2 separate regions of the Homo sapiens genome follow, and region 2 is linked to region 1. The links are contacts of gene promoters, found by promoter capture Hi-C in human tissues and cell types (Jung and others, 2019). All regions are on one chromosome and are shown on one strand. Each heading gives the region's core, a stretch centred on a gene start or on the middle of the fragment in contact. The rest is flanking DNA. Distances are from core to core; before and after follow the strand shown. Region 1 overlaps KLC1 (kinesin light chain 1). Region 2 holds the start of MARK3 (microtubule affinity regulating kinase 3).

Evidence for each region. The method cuts DNA at HindIII sites, captures the fragments that hold promoters and counts their contacts. A contact is called where the count stands out against the background at its distance.
Region 2: a contact is called between the fragment with the promoter of MARK3 here and a fragment that was not itself captured in region 1, in 2 of the 25 tissues and cell types used here (hippocampus and pancreas).

What each region holds. Positions count from the first base shown.
Region 1 is chr14:103,641,164-103,643,875 of GRCh38, reverse strand. The region is part of intron 1 of KLC1 (kinesin light chain 1); the gene reads right to left. Among named protein-coding and RNA genes, the nearest start is that of KLC1, 13 kb to the right of the region's middle. The HindIII fragment of the contact is 7,416 bases long and covers 1-2,712 here.
Region 2 is chr14:103,383,984-103,386,763 of GRCh38, reverse strand. It overlaps MARK3 (microtubule affinity regulating kinase 3), which reads right to left and starts at 1,349. Exons shown (of 18, transcript NM_001128918.3): 1 at 684-1,349. The coding sequence starts at 734. RefSeq lists enhancers at 413-602, 543-1,532, 1,533-2,524 and a silencer at 883-1,072. The HindIII fragment of the contact is 8,681 bases long and covers 1-2,780 here.

The sequences.
Region 1 (2,712 bases), core at 138-2,637:
GGGCCAGGCAACCTCCACCTTCTGCGCTCAAGTGATTCTCCTGACTCAGCCTCCCGAGTAGCTGGGATTACAGGCATGCACCACCACGCCAGGCTAATTTTTGTATTTTTAGTAGAGACGGAGTTTCACCATATTGGCCAGGCTGGTCTGGAACTCTTGACCTCAAGTGATCTGCCTGCCTTGGCCTTCCAAAGTGTTGGGATTACAGGCGTGAGCCACCATGCCCGGTCAACCAATGTATTTCTTAAATGTATCTGATTGATGTCTCATGCCTCTCTAAAATGTATAAAACCAAGCTGTGCCCCGACCACCTTGGGCACATGTTCTCAGGACTTCCTGAGGGCTGTGTCACGGGCCATGGTCACTCATATTTGGCTCAGAATAAATCTTTTCAAATATTTTACAGGGTTTGAATCTTTTCATAACAATTCTATCAAGGGCACGTGCCAACATGATTTACACCTAATACATCAGCCTCGACCACCTGGCTCAGGTAGCATTTGCAGGTTTAGCCACTGTAAGATTATCACCACCACCTCCACACACAGTCATCCCATTCCATACTCTTAGGAAGCAAGTCACTAAGTGCAGCCCACACTCCAAGGAGATGGGGAAAGTTATAGAGGACCCTCTGGAAGATGGAAGAATCTACCATTATTTGGAATTCTTCTCTAAGGGAGATCAGTCTATTCTTTGTCTCTTTCCTCATTTATTAATGTAATTATTTATATCAATATGGACTTACAGATATTTGTTTTATACTTTAGGTGATAAGTAAAATACTAATTGTTAAAAATACATTCTTGGCTGGGCATGGAGGCTCATGCCTGTAATCCCAACACTTTGGGAGGCCATGGTGGGTGGATTACCTGAGGTCAGGAGTTGGAGACCAACCTGACCAAAATGGTGAAACCCCGTCTCTACTAAAAATACAAAAAAATTAGCCGGGCGTGGTGGTGTGCGCCTGTTGTCCCAGCAACTCAGGAGGCTGAGACAGGAGAATTGCCTTGAACCTGGGAGGTGGAGGTTGCAGTGAGCCGAGATCACGCCACTGCACTCCAGCCTGGGCAACAGAGTGAGACTCCGTCTCAAAAAAAAAAAAAAAACCAAAAAACCAAAAAACTACATTATTTATTTTATTGTTCAAGTTGTTCCAGCTTTTGTCAATGGGAGCTCTTTCAGTTGGTTCCTGTGTCCCTTCTTCATGTTCCCATCCCTTTGTTTTTTAGCATATCCTTACATTCAAACACTAGAAGAAGCTTCAGGCTCATCTTATATTTTCCCTGCCCCAGCCCTAGAATCACCCATTACTCCAAAGAGTTCTGATTTGTTTTGGTACAATGGAATCAGAATCCAAAACTGGGAGCCAGTAGTCTTTCTCCTAAAAACTCATAACCCTGACTTAACCATGGGAAAAATATCAAGACAAACCCAAATTTAAGGACATTGTACAAAATACCTTGCCCATATGTCTCAAAACTATCAAGGTTATTGCAATGGAATCAATGTGTGCCCCCCACCCCAATTCACATGTTAAAATTCTAATGCCTAGAGTAATGCTTTTAGGAGGTGGGGCCTTTGGGAGGTGATTAGGCCATGAGGGGACCCCTCACGGTGGGATTAGTGCCTTTAAAAAAGGGAACCCAGGGGCTGAGCAGTGGCTCATGCCTGTAATCCCAGCACTCTGGGAGGCCGAGGTGGGTGAATCACCTGAAATCAGGAGTTCGAGACCAGCCTAGTCAATATGGTGAAACCCCGTCTCTACTAAAAATACAAAATTAGCCGGGCATGGTGGTGCATGCCTGTAATCCCAGCTACTCAGGAGGCTGAGGCAGGAGAATAGCTTGAACCCAGCAGGCAGAGGTTGCAGTGAGCTGAGATCATGCCACTGCACTCCAGCCTGGGCGATGGAGTGAGACTCTGTCTCAAAAAAATAAAAAATAAAGGGAACCTAGGCAGAGTATAGTGGCTGATACCTATAATCCCAACACTTTGGGATGCCAAGGCAGGCAGATAGCTTGAGCTCAGGTGTTCAAGACCAGTCTGGGCAACATGGTAAAACCCCATCTCTACAAAAAATACAAAAATTATCTGGGTGTTGTAGTGTGCACCTGTAGTCCCAGCTACTTGGGAGGATGAATTGAGCCTGGGAGGCTGAGGTGGAGGTGGGAGGATGAAGTGCACCCAGGAGGCGGAGGCTGCAGTGAGCCAAGATTGTGCCACTGCACTCCAGCTTGGGCAACAGAGACAGACTCTGTCTCAAAAAAATAATTATTATTAAATTTTTTTTAAAAAGGGAACTCTCTCACACTCTTTTCACCATGTGAGAATACATCTAGAAGTCGGTAGCATGCAACCAGAAAGAGGGTCTGCACCAGAATCTGACCATGCTGGCACCCTGATCCCAGACTTCCAGCCTCCAGGACTGTGGCTTGTGTTGTTCGTGAGTCACTAGCCTGTGGTACTTTGTTACAGCCTCGCAAGCTAAGACAGTCCTCTAATGCAAGGAAAGTCTAAGAAAACAGCCACAGAGCAGGAGGCATGATGACTAAATGTGATATGGTATCTTGGATGGGATCCTGAGGTACAACAAGGACAAGGGAAAAACCAGTGATACCAAATAAAGTGGAGTTCAGTTAATAATAATGTACCAGGCTGGGCACAGTGACTCACACCTGTGATCCCAACACTGGGAGGCCGAGGCAGGTGGAT
Region 2 (2,780 bases), core at 100-2,599, 260 kb after region 1:
GCGGGTGTCCCTCAGCTAGGCAGTGAGTGGCAGAGCAGAGCTTCACTATACATCTGCTTTTCAAAATGTTTAACCAACTCCTTCAAAAAAGATTTGTATGGAAAGGAAACTGCCTTAATAAAGGCTGCGCGCTAGTGTTTTGGAATTCCTAAGGGGACCGCAAAGATCCCTCAGTGGACACTTAGTGACTGTGATTAAATTTAGTTCCAGACCATCTTAAAGAACGAGACCGCCCACTTGACCCAATCGATTACTCTTAATCAGCACCGGTAACATATGTTATTAATGTGACAGTCTCTCAAGAACTGCCTGACCAAGTTAAAAGCAGAGTTCGGCTAAAATAAGCACTGACCACTGCAGTGATCTGACACACACGTTTGCACAATCCATTGCGCGGCAACCTGGCCTCTCAAAGCACCGATCCGTAACGCTGCAACTCCTGGGCTTTATTAACCGACTAGACTGCCGGCATAATCGATGTACTTCGCAGACCCGCCCGCGAACAGCGGGACACGGCAGACTTCTGGAGGAAACGGTCCGACCTGGCTGCCTCCTGGGTGACTACGGCCTGCCCTCTATTTCCAGAGCGTTCGGCTGGGGGGAACACCCGACTGCAAGGCACTGCCCGAGGAGCACGAATGCCACCCCGAAGGTCCGCCAACTACAACGCCCAGGTTACTTACGTTTTCAGTGTCTCGTTCATTCACCGTTGGCAATGGGGTCCTAGTGGACATTTTACTGCACTTTAATTCTGCACAATGCGAGGGTCAAAACAAAACAGCACAGCCCTAGGAGGCCGGCGACCAGCGTCCTCGAGTCCACGGCAGTTCCGAAAAGGCGCCGTGGGGAGGGCGGCTCCCTTCCCCCTACGGCCGTCTAGATCCCGGGCCTGGCCCGGGCCGTCCCCCGGCGGGTCCCGGGGCTCATTCTCTCCCTGCCTCGGCGGCCGAGGCGAGGAGACCGGGAGGGCGGCAGTGGCGGAGCCGAGCCTGCGGGCGGCGGGCTGCGCTTCGGCCCGCCGGCGTCCCCTTGCCTCAGGGCGCCCCGCGATCCTGGGCCCCCTCACCTCCTTCTCCACTCCCTCCCGTCGCACCGCGAATTTCAGCTCGCGGGCCTCCACACAGCGCCGCCGGCGGCGCCTGAAAACGAGGAGGCGGAGGAGGATGTGAAGGAAGTGGAGCGCAAGACAGGCCGCCGCGGGCTGTGGGCGCCGACCATGGAGCGGGCTGCGGAGGAGGCGCCTGCGCCCGACTGCTTCTCCCTCTCTAGCGAGCTTGCTGCCTCAGCCTCCGCCCTGCTGGCCGCCGCTGCCGCCGCCGCACCCCGGCACCTCAGAGCCTCACGGAGCCAAGATGGCCGCCCCTCGGCTTCCTCTGCTGCCTCCGGCTGCCGGAAGTGACGACAGGCCGCCACCCGGAGTCCCGCCAATCAGCATGGCCTGAGAAAGCCGGCCCGGCTGTTGTTGCTAGGGGCGACTTGGTCCAGACCTCGCCGCGGGGGCGGTGCAGAGGGCTGGATAGTGCTGGTCGGGTCTCCGCTGACTCCCGCGGGCTGCGGGTTCCTCCTGTCCCGAGCGCGCCGGCAACCGCGAAAGAGCCGAGAAACGGCTCTGGGCGACAGCCAGAGCCCTCCCGCTGAGTTGGCATTTACACACTACAGGCCTGGGTTGGCTGGATTACAGATCGAGAGCCTATTGTGCGCAAAAGTTGCGGTTGCATCCCTGGGACTGCGCTGCACCGAATGGAGCCCCAGCATTAATTAATGACAGGGCCGGGGCTACGGGAAGGCGCCGGGCTCTTGCATCCTTAACTGTGACCCGGGAGTCAGGTTCTCGCCAACAAACCTTCCCGTCTCCGGATCTGAGCAGCTGCGGGCTGGGCGCGGACCCTGAGGGCAGCAGGCGCCTCTTGCCCTCAAGGAGCTGGTGGTCAGACGGGTGACAGACCCGGACCCAGCTAAATGCCATCCGGATGGAAGAGTGCAATAACGAGGGTGGCACAAAGGGGATGGGTTTGGGGGCGAAATGAATCTGTAGAGGACCCCAGGGACCAGCTTCCAAATGCCTGTAGGGGGTTTATAAGCAGGCTTTTCTTACAGTCAGTGCGTTGCTGCTGGAAGACTGGAAGCATCTCTGGGTGCCAGCCTCGGGCCAGGCTCGGTAGATGCCTGCAGGCTGGAACACTGGAAATGCTACCTGACCTGGAAGCCTTCCTTGCCCATTCACCTCTTCACGTGCTCGGTGCCTCTACTCAGCTCCTGGCCAGCGGTGGATGGAATCCATGGGTGCAGGGTCCGAAGAGGGAGAGTAGTGTGAGATGGGGGTGACACGAACTGTTACCGAGAGTCGAGTCTACCTTGTGGGTTCATGACATTTGTTACCTCATTTAGCCTCAGGGTAACCCTATGAGATGGGCAGACACACATGCGATCCGAAGTCTAGACAGGTACAGTGACTTGGCTAAAGTACACAGGTTGGTTAGCGACAGAGCTGGGATTCTAACCTAGCTCCCAAAGCTTGGATAATAGGTAAGCCCTTGTAGTGGGGGGCTATGTCATGCTTGCTTTCCCTTTGGTCCGTTGGCATCCCAACTCTCTTGCTATGTTTGAGACATTTCTTGCTCCACGAAATATATGTTTGTTGTTGTTGTTGTTGTTGTTGTTGTTTTGGGACGGAGTTTCGCTCTGTCGCCCAGGCTGGAGTGCAGTGGCGCGATCTCCACTCACTGCAAGCTCCACCTCCCGGGTTCACGCCATTCTCCTGCCTCAGCCTCCCGAGTAGC